Linked DNA regions of Homo sapiens: region 2 is linked to region 1. Evidence: promoter capture Hi-C in human tissues and cell types (Jung and others, 2019). All regions are on one chromosome and are shown on one strand. The core of a region is centred on a gene start or on the middle of the fragment in contact, and the rest is flanking DNA. Distances in the headings are between cores, read along the strand shown. Region 1 holds the start of DAD1 (defender against cell death 1). Region 2 holds the start of TMEM253 (transmembrane protein 253).

Region 1 (6,572 bases), core at 1-2,500:
GATCTGCCTACCTCGGCCTCCCAAAGTACTGGGATTACAGGCATGAGCCACTGTGCCAGGCCTCCAGACAATTCCAATGCTGTATTTTGTCTGTACCCCAACTAGACCATAAACTCTTTACGGATAAAGAACATGTGCCAAAGCTTTTACCATAATGCCTCATATTGGACTGAAAATACAACTGATGACCTGACTGATGATCACACTGAAAAGAAACCATGAATGCTGGCATGTTTTCAAAGTCAAAGTAGCAGGTGATACCAGTGATAGAGGCCACGCCTGTTTTCAGTATTCACTGAATCCCCGTTGGGCAAGAAAAGTCAGATTTTAACAAAAATTGATGGAGACTGTTCTCGCTAAATATAGCAGTCTACAAGGTTACCAAATCCTGGAATCAAAAGGAAAAATAAGGCTAAAATAGAGTTATGTGAACAAAAATTGGGTTCAGGACAGTGAAATAACAGCTTCCTCAACAAGAAAAAAAGTAGTAGCAGCTAAAAGGCAAAATCAAGTAAAGGATGATTCAACAAGAAAAGCACCAGTATTTATATTCTTTGCACTTTCATTGAAACGTTTCACCGGAGATTGGTAATGATTAGGCCAAGATGACAGAGATGATTCAAGGTTGGGTTTTTCATTTGAAAAGTCTACTAATTTTAGAGTTGTGTTAAACCTAAGTTAAAGTTGGAATAGGGTTTTCCCCGGACCAATATTAAGTGAAGTGGATCACCAAGTGGAGTAGCGGCACGAAGGTGGTTTCTTTAGACTTTTAAGTCCAACTCCTACGGAGCCGTTTGGTATTAGGCATATAATCTAAGCTTTCTGAGCCTCAATTTCCCCATTCACAACAAAAGGGCAATGCAGGCTCTTCTCATAACTTCAAGGGGCGGTGGTCTGATATAGAGTACTATGAAAACAAAAGCAGCACACCAAAGTAACACATTATTATTATGATCACTTATAGAACCATTACCCGCTAGGATGAAACTCCCCACACAAGAGATGAAGCCCGAGAGAAAAGAGTTGAAGGGGAAGGTCCCCACGAGGAGACAGTAACCGAACTGCAGCGCCCCGGTCAGCAGTATATACAGCAGGTACGCGTCCAGCAACTTCAGACGCTGCGGAGTGGAGCTCAAGTACTCTTCTAAGAACCGCGAAATGACAGACACTACCGACGCCGACATAACTGCACGCAAGGTACTCCGGTCCGCGCCCCAAACTCTTGGAGGACCCGTCGACCACACCGGATGTGCTGTTTGCGCATGCGCACCCTCGTGACCTAACTCCGCCCTCCCCGGTGTGCCAATTTGCGCAGGCGCTGAGGCCGGCCAGGGCGCGTAACAACTAATGCGCAGACGCGGACTGCATCAACAGACTCAACTACAACTCAGAAAAGTTAATGCGTCTGCGCAATGGCCCTATCAATGAGCTGGGGACGTGTACTCTTTCTGTTCTGTTTCCGCCCGTCAGCTCGGTGACGCCCACAGTTGCTCTGGCAACAAGACACACTGGGAGGAAGAGGGGAATAAGCTTTACTGGGGACCGCGTAGCTAACCAGAGGTATCCGGCTCTCTCTGGTCCTTCTGAGTCCTGGAAGATTTAACGGTTTGCATCTACTTTGAGGCAATGCCTGGCGTTCCTGGGGTTTGATACCAGCCTGACCCTAATTCTGTTAAGGGCGCTGTCTGCAGATGTCTGTCACAGATCATTGGAACAAGTCAAGTTCATCCGCAGTGAGACCCGGCGCGGCCAATCACTGCACAGGCCCCAGTTTAGACTTAATTACTTGGGGGAGTGAGTGGGTGTGGTGAGGGGCGGGAGGCAGGGAGGAAGCCTGACCTCAGCAGGGTTCTGAACTGGAACTCGGGATCTGGCCCTGCAATGCCAACATTTATTGGGCGCCTCCTTGGGGCCTGACGTTGTACTAACTTGTAGGGACTCTCACGTGAATCAGATATATTTGCAGCCTTAAAAGAGCTGGTGAAGGGAGGGACAGCTGTCGAATGTCGTGCAAAAAGCATATGGTCAAGTTTAGCAGCTCTCTTTCCGCAAGCTGGTATCTTGAACCTGGTGTAATATCCCGGGATGTCAGCGTCGAAAGGCCCGAAAGAGCATGCCTGGTTCAACCCTACTCTCTCCAACTCATTTTGCAGAAGAAACTGAAATGGTTTCAGGTTTTGTATTTTAACAAGTGGGATTATTTTGAGGGTTTTAACTGTTTTTTTTTTTTTTTTTGAGACGGAGCCTTGCTCTGTCGGCCAGGCTGGAGTGCAGTGTCGCGATCTCGGCCCACTGCAACCTCCGCCTCCCTAGTAGCTGGGACTACAGGCACGCGCCACCACGCCCGGCTAATTTTTGTATTTTCAGTAGAGACGGAGTTTCACCATTGTTAGCCAGGCTGGTCCCGAACTCCTGACCTTGTGATCCGCCAGCCTCGGCCTCCCAAAGTGCTGGGATTACAGGCATGAGCCACTGCACCCGGCCTGTTTTAACTTTTTTTAAGAAATTAAGTTCTGGCTTTCGTTGCCCTTTTAATTTCACGTGAATCCGACCTTCTAGACCCAGTTCATCTCACCTTTTAGCTGTAAGTTTTTCCACACATGACCAGGTACTTTATTTTCAGCTTCTTAATATTTTGAACTGTACGTGAGCAAAATTCCTAAAACAGCAGGTGAACAACAGCGTTCCTGCCTTTTCACTTTTTTTTTTTTTTTTTTTTGAGATGAAGTTTTGCTCTTGTCACCCAGGCTGGAGTGCAGTGAATGGTGCGATCTCGGCTCACTGCAACCTCCACCTCCTGGGTTCAAGCCATTCTCCTGCCTCAGCCTCCCGAGTAGCTGGGATTAGAGGCACCTGCCACCACGCCCGGCTAATTTTTGTATTTTTAGTAGAAACGGGGTTTCGCCATGTTGGCCAAGCTGATCTTGAACTCCTGACCTCAGGTGATCTGCCTGCTTCAGCCTCCCAAAGTGCTGGGATTATAGGAGTGAGCCACTGCGCCGGCCCCTTTTCACTTTTTATTTGCCTTTAGACTGGAAACTCTACACGCATTAACTAACGGATGTATTATCAGTGGTGATCAAAGCCTTACTTAAGTTCTAGAAAGAAGAGAAATAACCTAAGAAACCTTTAGAGTCTATTTGAATAGATAGATTTATATTCATACCCGTGGAGATTTGTGCAGCTATATGAACATAAGTTCAGCCTAAACCTATGTTGCTGAGAAAGAAAAAAAAAGAGTGGATAACAAGCTGGTTCTTATTTCAATATAATATGGCAGGAAGCATCAATTTCTCTGACAAGTTGAACCTTTCTCTCTGCCTCATCAACAAGTAGGAGGGTAGCTTCCTCACGAATATTCAACTTCAAACTTTACAGGCTAGGCTGATGCTTTTTAATCATTCAGGTGTGGATTCTTCAGGGAGTTTCTGTTCCATCAGCCAGGCTCCTTCCAGTGTTTTCTCCCTTATGTTTTGTCTGCCTTTGATCCATGTCAACTATCATCATTAAGATCTCCCCAGGAACTCTCACAGGAGAGAAGAAGAGATGAAAAACACCAAATGGACTTATTGAATGCATTTGTTTCTGAGACCTGCTAGTCACACCAATATACTACACTAGGGCTTTTCTGAACTACTTAAAACAGCAAGAAAAGGCCTACTTCTCTATTCGGTTTATGATTCTATAATCATTGAAACATTTTTAACTGATCTGTCAATAGGAAATTGCTAACACTAGTGTTGATTTCAATTAGTTTAAATCAGAATATTAATATAGTTTAAAATTCTTGTCCAGAGTAGTGGATAAGAGTGCAAGCTCTAGAATCAGACAGTCCTAGGTTTGAACCTTGATTCTGCTGTTTACTAGTTGTCTAATCTGGAACAAGTTACTCAGTCTGACAGTCTCATTTTCCTTTTCTATAAAACAGAAATAACAATACCTGGCTCATTGAAATTATGTGAGGATTAAATGAGATAATGTTAAGCATTAAGCTGTTAGCATAGTGTTTGGCAGACAGTAAATGTTCAGTAAATGTTTGCTCTTATTAACTATCATTAATCCTAGTAATTAACCATGTCTGCTTCTCCTAGTTCTCTGAATGATTAAAAGTTAGCCAAACTACAGCGCCCCCAATAATTTGGGTATGCAAAAGATAGCACTGGAGGGACTGCAACTCAAATGGCTCTTAAAGGGCAGATCTAATTTATAAGCTGAAACTGAAGTCAGAGTATACTTTAGGGGTTTCATTACATAAAACAATGGAAGAGTGGAGGAGCAAGAGGGTTCCCTTAAGGGCAAAGTCCATGATTTTACATCATACATCCTCTACAAAAAGAAATCACATTATTTACCAAAAGAAACACAAATCCTCCAAAGTTTGAGTAGACAATAACTCTTCTAAAGGAAATCTCCGCATGGAAAAGAATGTCTTTTCCATTTCCTTTCCCTTGCATTGTCACGTTTGCCTTAAGATTCCCCTCTTTGCTTCTGTTAACTGCTATTGCATATATAATCTCTACCTTCTAAACTTTGGCCCCAGTGTGACCAAAACCCCCTCTCCTTGTTTCCTAATAGAACAGATAAAATAGGTTATTATTTTCAGAAATAAAAATTTAAGGAGAATCAAGTTGCAAACAGCACAAAGTCAAATTTTTAAAGTATCAAGTTTCTGATCAAGTCCTAGTAAAGCAGTAAATATCTTCAGTGAACCCATATCCCTTCATCCTTTCAGTTTCTGATGAAGTGGAACAACTTTTCAGCTCCTTTGTCTGGTTTCCCTCCCTCCTAGCTGTTTGGGAGTCTCAAAAAAGCCTCAGTTTTGCCCCCTTGCTGGCACCCGAAAGTGAGTCCACTATATTGTCCTTTCCAAGAGCAGATCACTCACCACAACATGGGGCTGAAATCATCAGTGCCTGAGCAACAGTGTGCAATAGAATTTTCTGTGATAATGTCTCTGCACTGCCCAGTATAGTAACTGCTAGACATATGTGGCTATTGAGCACTTAAACTAGTTAGTGTTGTAACCCAAATGCAGGTTCACTCTCTCGCTGCTTGCAGAGTCCACTTAACAAGAGTGAGATCTGGTATAAAGAAAATGATATTTTATTCCAAAGCTACCTTAGGGGAGGAAGTACAGGTTTTCTGCCTTAAGGGTACCATTTCACTTTTGGAGCAGAAAGAGGGTGCTTTTGAAATGGGGCATGGAATGCTGGCATGAATGGCACGAGGGGAGGAAGCGAGTGGTTGGGGGGTCTGCATACTACCTTCAGTGCCTTATCTACTGGACAGTGACTGCTGGTGCCTTTTGTGGGCAGGACTGGGTTGTAAAAGTGGCCAAAACTCTCCAGGTAAGAGAAAGCTTTGTAGCAGGCATACTTTGGGTTGTAGATAGGCTGTTGTCTCTCAAGGCAACCTCCCGGTGGGTGAGAGTTCCTCTCTGGAGCTTCTAAGCACATAGTTAGATGAACCTGCCCCATAGGGAGTGTCTGATAAAGAGGAGGTAAAAGGCTACAATTGCATTTCTAAAGAGCTAAGGAGGAAGTGAGGAGAAGGGGGAAAAGAAGAGAGATTTTTTAAAAATCATTAAACTATCTCTTAGAAAAATGGGGATACTTGGTTACAGTGTGACTAAGGAAATTTTATTTGGCTTTTATTTAAATCTAAGTAGCCACTTGTGGCTAGTGGCTGTCATTGGACAGAACAACTTATGAGCTATTCCACTCATTTCTATGTTCAGTCAAAGAGATATACCTTGTTCACAGTTTATTCAAATGGCAGTGATACCCATTTGAAACAAGAATAATCTATAGCTGCCAGGCCTGAGCTATCAGTTTATCAGCTCCACCTACTTTTGGAATACTCAGTGATGACTTACAGTCATAGAAAGAGGGTTTGTAACCTCCCAAGGAGTTCACCTTGCCCGCTGCCTAGACAGAGCTGGTTCATCAAGACTGGGCAATTAGAATGGAGAAAGAGTAATTCATACACAGCCAGCTGTGCAGGAGAACGGAATTTTATTATTACTCAAATCAGTCTCCCCAAGCATTCGGGGATCAGAGTTTTTAAGGACAACTTGGTTGGGGAAGCCAGTGAGCCACGAGTCCTGATGGTCGGGGAAGAAATAATAAGGAGTCCAAGCTGTCTTCTTGCCCTGAGTTCCTGGGTGGGGGGCGCTGCAAGATCAGATGAGCCAGTTCATCAATCTGAGTGGTACCAGCTGATCCATCAAGTGCAGGGGTCACCAAATATCTCAAGCACTGATCTTAGGAGCAGTCTAGGGAGGGTCAGAATCTTGTAGCCTCCAGCTGCATGACTCCCAAACCATAATTTCCAATCTTATGGCTAATGTTAGTGTTACAAAGGCAATCTAGTCTCCAGGCAACAAGGAAGTCAGCCCCGGGAAAGGGCTGTTATCTGTCACAAACCACAAACTATAAACTAAGTTTCTCCCAAAGTTAGTTCAGCCTATGCCCAGGAATGAACAAGGACAACCTGGTTAGAAGCGAGATGGAGTCAGTTAAGTTAGATCTCTTTCACTGTCTCAGTCATAATTTTGCAAAGATGGTTTCAGA
Region 2 (6,808 bases), core at 4,184-6,683, 1.5 Mb before region 1:
AATAATCACAGAGTTTTCTATAGTCAGGCCTTAAACACCATCCTCGAGACTTGGCCAGACAGCAGCACTGACCTACTTTCCACCCCCACTGGGAATCAGGGGTTATCTTGCCCTTATTTGGATTCTATAAGGATGCGGGGCCAGGGATAGATATCAGAAACCTTTCAAAAGCAGTAGGCCAATTATCCTTACATGCTGGGGCAGCTGGTAGGGAAGTGGGTGTGGACCACTAAACCTTACTCAGTAGAGAAGGATGGAATGGTTGGTGAAAAGACTTAGAAACAACAAGGACAGGTACATAGAAGTATTTGCTAAATGGACCACAAAGACTGTCCCTCAAGTCTTGTGATTCAAAAGTTTTTAGGGTCAAAGTGTAAGGAGCAAGGGTTCAGGACTTCTGGGGTCCAGTTGTAACTGCCTCTGGTCACCTCTAACACGATGGTTTTCCCTCTTGAGAATCCTAGACCTCCCAAATCTGCTAACAATTATGATTACCACTGCACTAGATGGGGTTAAAAGGAAAGGGAGCTTCTAGGGCGGTCTACGTTCAAAAGACTACCTTGATCACACAGACACACCAGTAGTTCACTTTTATGGTCTCCTCTCCATGGCCCTCTGAACCTCACTGCTCAGATAGCTCCTCCTAACCCGCTCCACTCTGCAGCTCACCAGCCTTTTTAGACTGAGATCTTGGTAAAGCCTCCTTCCCTCTGTCCTCACTCTCCTGAGTTAGGGACATGGAACCTCAGCCATGGACTTCAAAGGTACAGCAGGAGGCGAGAGGAAGGCACACCTGCTCACCTGCTGCCATCCCACCATGGGGAATCTTATCCCAGAGGCATGTCCTAACGCAACCCCGATTTTGATTTTGAAAGTTCTGGAAGACCTGGGTTTGGGAAAGAGGGGCATGTAGCCAGCCCTAAGTCCCTTTAAGTGGAGCTGACCCTAGAAAAGTCAGTCTTAGCACCCACGTGAGCCTCGGTCCTCAGACTGGGAGGTAGGGGCGATCAAGGGAGCCTCTGGGAAAATCCCCCTCCCAGAAATAGATTGCTAAGTAGGGTAGGACCTGCTATCCTGCCGGAGAGGTTTTTCCAGCAGCACCCCAGACCCCTCCCCAGGAAGATAAGCCAGAAGGATGATGGGGGGCAGGGTTGGGAGATAGGGAGGCCAAGGCTCAGCTACCCCCGGCCAGGAGAACAAAAGCTGAGTTACAGCCGCCTCCGCTGCTGCCGCGGGCCGAGCTCTTTGTGACACTTTGTTTGGGACGCAAAGAGGGAAGCACCCCCCATCCTTTCCCCTCCCCCGCCACCCCGTGCTTCCAGAGAGTTTGGGCTCCTTCCCCCTCCCCCACCAGCCCTACCTGGGCCGGGGGTTGGGGGGTGCACATCCACTCAGGCTCGCGGCTCTGCCGCCCCTCACCCCCAGGTCCCTCGCGCCCTGCCTTCGGGCCCCTACAAAGACACCCGCCACCTCCCCCGCCACATCCCCCCCGTTGGCCCTTCCCTTTGGTGTCTGCTCCCCCAGCTCTTCCACCTGGCCCCCCCTCCCTTGGGGCCCCCCAGCTCTCCAGGCTTCCGAGGCCGCCACCCCCACCCCGCCCCCCCAGGAGCTCTGGGCGAAGTTTGCTTGGGGCCGAGCCGGCGCCCCTCCCCCGCCCCCGCCCCCTGCACCTGCTCCGAGCCGGGCGCGCTGAGCGGGCCCCCCCTCCGGGAGGGGGGAGGGGGCCGGGGGCGGGGGCCGGGTGGCGGACGGGGGGGCCCGGGAGTCGGGGGAGCGGCTACTCACGAGCCCCGGGCGGGCGGCGGCGGAGCGGGCGGCGGCGGCGGCGGCGGCGGCGGGCGGCGGGCCGGCGGCGCGGGCGTCAGCGTTACGTGGGGCCGGGGGAGATGCGCCGGGCCCCGGCCCCCCCGCCCCCGGCCCGGCCCCCGCCCCCTCCCCGGTCCCCCGCCCCCGGCCCTGGCCCGCATTGTGTGCGGCGGGAGGCGGCCCGGCCATTAGCATGCGGGGGGCGGCGCGGCGGGGCTGGGAGCCGCGCGGGAGCCGGGCTCTGGCTCCGGGGACAGGGAGCTGGGGACCCCGGGAGCCGCGAGAGGCGGCCGCCAGGGGCGGGGTGCGGGCGGTTTGGAGACGGGGGGCGCTGTCGGAGGGAGGGAGGAAGGGAGGGAGCGGGGGTGGGGCGCACAGAGGATTCCAACAGGAGACTGGAAGAGATTTTGAAAGGTCATCTCGTCCTTCCCCCAGCCTCCAAGCAGCACTGCCCCTCCCTCCCTAAACCCGGACATACCAGGGAAGGAGTTGGCTCTGCCGCTCTTTCTGCCCCAACATGCACAGACTCGGGAAGTTCTTCCTGGGGTTTTATCTCAAAGCCTCTCCCTTACAATTTCTGTCTCTCTTTTGGGGGAGGAGGAGGGGCGATTATAGAGATAGTTAATGTCGGCCGTATAAGAAACATTATTAAAGTTACTCTTCGGTCCTTTCCGTTCTTGATAAACAATTCCTGCGCCTTCCTCTCGAATTCTATTTTCCATTCCTCAAGTCACTTTAATGGCTCTTCAATACAACAAATATTTACTGAGTGCTTACTAAGTGCCAGGCACTGGGCTCAGCGCTGTGAGGGATGAGAAAGAAGTGGTACCTTCCTTCCAGGCGATTGTAGTCTAGACTACAAACTGGTAAGTAGTATACTCAGATTTAGTCAATATTTACTGAATGCCTGTTCACCTATCTAATAGTATATAATCTTTCCAATAACCCTCTATAATTAAATTAGCCCCCATTTACAAGTAAGAAAAATGAGGCTTCAGGAAGTCTGTTTCCCCAGTGGCCTGCAGGCTCGGGGATCCTCAGTGCAAGCCCAACATCTCACATCGCCACCAAATAAAATCAATGCACGTGGGAATTGAGGAGGAGTAGACACACAGCAGTTTTCTGGATCTCTTTAAAACGTGACTCCCACTCCCCGGGAAAGAAAAGAGTAGATACAATGACCCGCCGATGTTGGCACAGCACTGATGGGGCAGGAGTGGCTTACAAAAGATCACTTGCCTCCCAGGACCCTGCCTCCCTCCTCGTACTAACTTCTAGAGTCTTCTGGCGCAGTCTCCTCTTATCGTCAACAACAAGAAATAATAATAGTGATGATGATCATAGCCACTAACATTGAGCACTTGTGTACCAGGTACTGGGCTAAGCTCTCTTCCATGCTGAAAGCAACCCCTTGAGACTGGTATTATTAACTTCCTTTTATAGATAAGGGAACAGAGAGATTAAGCAACTTGCCAAGGGCACCTAGGTAGATCTGGGATTTGTTTTGATCTATAGAGTATATTTGGGCCCAGCTGGTTCTGCTTCCGACTGTAGAAATGTGTCCCCAGCTTCCTTCTGAATAACACTTTTAGTGTATGGGCATCAGACTTATCGGTGTGACCTCATCAGCACCACTAATAGTTATTAAACACCCACCCTGAATCAACAACTCTTCACAGTCATATTGTTAGCCCCCTTTTATCAGTGAATAAACTGAGGTGCGAATAGGTAGAAAAACATATCTATCAGGACAGACACAGTGGCCCACACCTGTAATCCCAGCAGTTTGGGAGGCCAAGCAGGGAGGATGGCTTGAGCCCAGGAGTTTGAGACCAGCTTAGGCAACATTGTGAGACGACCCTGTCTCTACAAAAAATTTAAAAATTAGCCAGGCATGGTGGCATGTGCCTGTGATCCCAGCTACTTGGGAGACTGAGGCAGGATGATTATTTGTGCCCAGAAGGTGTTGGCTACAGTGAGCCATGATCATGCCACTGCACTCCAGCCTGGGTGACAGTGAGCCCCTGTCTCAATAATATAATAATAATAATAATAATAATGTATCCAAGATCACACAGATGGAGAAGCAGCAGAGCTAAGATTCCAGCTCAGGTCTGTCTGGCTATGAGGCACCTTCTCTCTCAAAAATATTAATTGTTGCAATAGCATCCTTCCCAAGACTCACTATTTGAGGACCATGAGATAGATAGATAGATAGATAGATAATGTCCAGTTGCAGGTTATCATTGAATCAAAAACAATCCCCACCATAAACAGGGTCCCCCCCATCCATTGAGTCAGTGTTCAGTTCAGAGTAAAACCTTCAAGAAAGAAGGAAGGGAGACTGTCCAGAAAGTGAGAGGCAAGAAAGCCCCTGGAATTCAACCTTACCTGGTCTGGGGGCAAAGCTGCAAGTAGTAATGACAGGGGACCAATCCAGACAGAAAGTAGGATCTCTAGGGAAGGGCACATAATTTGAGGAGGAAGCCAAAGAAAGGAGTAAGATCATATGGAAATGAGGGGGAATTGAGGTCCAGAGTGATAGTGTCCATGGGGATGAGGTAAGTGAAACCAGAAAAGGAACCCAGGATGGGCAGAAATGAGGGTAATGAGAAATGGGAACAGAGTGAGGTCGGGCTAGACATCTTGTGGAGTGAACTGAGGCCGGTATCTACCCAGGGCCACTCCCTAGATCCTTAGGCCTTCATAGAAACCTTTGCCCCACCACACCCCATCCCTGACAGCCTTCCTCTGCCAGGACAAGTTTGTCGTCTGCTCTGAGCTATCAAGCCCCTTAGGAGACCTAGGACCCAGCTGGGTCCCATCCCTTTGGAGTAGCTGCTTCAGACTAGGTAGGTGTGAGGACCTGGACCTCAAATCCCTGGATATTGGGAGTGGGCAGAGGTGTAGCTGAAAGATACGTTGTTGCATGTCCTGTCTCCTAATAGACAGAACCTATAACGCATTTTTCCCAGCCTAGGAAGCACCTAATTCTTGTGGGCAAAGGAGCCATGGAAGATAGAGCTGGTGAGCAAGAGCAGGAGAGACACAGCCTTCGTCTGGAAAAGCTACAACACTGGGCAAGGCACAGGCAGAGTGGGCACCTCTTGGTGCTAGCGGTGAGGCCAGGCTACCCCATCCCAGGTCTCAGCATGTCCACTTCTACCCAATTCAATTCCATCCATCCATCCATCCATGTTAAGTGAGCACCTACCATGTGCCAGAAACTGAGCTAGGTTCTGAATGGGAGGAGGGTAGAGGAAAACATAGAAATAAACAAGGCAAGACCCTTAATCTCCCAAGTAGCTTCCATCTTGTGGGGGAAAACATACAGGTAAGTAACTAAACTACAATATGAGGCAGAAAAAATTAAATGATACTTAATTTTTAATGATCACGTCCTTGCTCTGGGTTGACTGCTTTCCTCCACCCTGCATTCAATCCCATTTCCTGATCTCTAAAGAGGTAGGAGTTACGAGAAGGGAGGGAATCCCTGACAGTTCCTCCCCAATTACCCTACCCTTACCCCCAGGTGAGCCAGCTATGGCTGGCAGTGGTTGTGGTGCCCCTTGCTGTCTCAGTCGCCTGCCTGAACTCTGATTGTCACATGGCCACAGCGCTGCCTCTTGGGCCTGGAGCCTCAGTAAGACCCACCACAAGGGAGGGTGGAAGGTCCCAGGGCCCCTTCCTAACGGGACCAGAGCTCAACACTTGCCCTTCTCACCATTCAGGGTCTCCTCACTGGGACTGTCACTCTGGAGCTTCGCAGAGCACCCCGCCTTTGGAAGGTGAGAGGGAAGAAAACGCAGCACTGTCCTCCCACTCCCTAAAACAGACACCTACAACCCTCAGCCTAGGAAGTAAGTGGCTAAGTGTTGACTCATTCTCTCAGCTGTCACCACTGACTGGCCTCAATCACTGAGGAGGAAAGCAAAAAAGTTAAGAGGGCTTATGGCCCTGTTTGGAGGCTGAGAAGCAGAAGCTGAGTTTTGTCTTCAGCTAGGCTGCAAGTGGGGATTGAGGTTGGAATGACTCCCCTAGGCTGGGCAGGGCTGAGCTGGCTCACTGGCAGGTGCGGGCCATGATGATATTCAACACCTTCAACTTGATCTTGGGTTTCATAGTGGTGGTGGTCGAGGTGATGAAGACAGCCTTGGGGCCTGCCCCAACTGCCTCCTCCCAGGTACTGGTCAATGAAGGAGAAGGTGGGAGGATAAGGAGGCAAGAGGAGGTGGGAAGGGAAAAGGGCAGGGGCAAACAGGTGCGGGGTCCCTGCATTCTCAGCCCTGTCTACCTGCAGCATGCTGGCTTGCTGGTGCTGGAACTCAGTGCTGAGGCCTTCACCCTAGGGGGAGTGCTGGTCTCAGTGCACGCCCTATTCTTGCTGAGCCAGAGGAAACCAGGATGCTGCAGGAGCCAGAGTCTGCACTATCAAGAGCTGCAGGAGGTATGGGGGCAGGGAAGAAAGCACGAATAGCTAGCTGCCAACTAATTTTTCCACTGCCTATCCTGGTCAGTGGCACTTAAGGGAAAATAATGGGGCAGGAGAGAAAAGAAGAGGTCCTAGAATGAAACTGATTGGCTTTCTCTGGCTTTGAACATTTCTCCCCTAATGGTGGGTAAGAGGAAACTGGGAATCCAAATGATTGAGGTTAAAAGAGTGGGAAAGCATTAGGAAGCTGCCTAAATATTGGCAGGACTATGGGAAACAGGATAGAAAATTGGGCAGGAGGAAGCAGTTGTTTCTGTCTGGGGTTTCTCCTTTCTCACCTCTACAATTTGCTCACACCTGTCTCTGGTTTTCAGGGCTTCTCTGAGTTGGAAGAGGTTCCTGGTTTGGAGAATGGTCCCACGGTGGCCAGCACAGGAGCAAATGAGAGGGTGGGACAGCGGGAACAGACACGTGCTGCTCTCCTTCCACCCTGAGAGAATGCTCTCCAGACATTCCTGCATCCCACCCCACCAAACTCAGAAGCTTGCTGGGATCCTTCGAGTCCAATAG

What was found. Contacts are between HindIII fragments. The study calls those that stand out against the background at their distance.
Region 2: a contact is called between a fragment that was not itself captured here and the fragment with the promoter of DAD1 in region 1, in 1 of the 25 tissues and cell types used here (hippocampus).

The regions. Positions count from the first base shown.
Region 1 is chr14:22,587,974-22,594,545 of GRCh38, forward strand. It overlaps DAD1 (defender against cell death 1), which reads right to left and starts at 1,251. Exons shown (of 3, transcript NM_001344.4): 1 at 974-1,251. The coding sequence starts at 1,184. RefSeq lists enhancers at 248-889, 890-1,531. The HindIII fragment of the contact is 2,964 bases long and covers 481-3,444 here.
Region 2 is chr14:21,096,527-21,103,334 of GRCh38, forward strand. It overlaps TMEM253 (transmembrane protein 253), which reads left to right and starts at 4,540. Exons shown (of 7, transcript NM_001395467.1): 1 at 4,540-4,658; 2 at 4,782-4,925; 3 at 5,339-5,449; 4 at 5,538-5,594; 5 at 5,879-5,989; 6 at 6,107-6,253; 7 at 6,613-6,808. The coding sequence starts at 4,818. The coding sequence ends at 6,732. It overlaps ZNF219 (zinc finger protein 219), which reads right to left and starts at 2,129. Exons shown (of 5, transcript NM_016423.3): 1 at 1,786-2,129. RefSeq lists enhancers at 550-1,051, 1,811-2,311, 6,771-6,808. The HindIII fragment of the contact is 4,406 bases long and covers 3,231-6,808 here.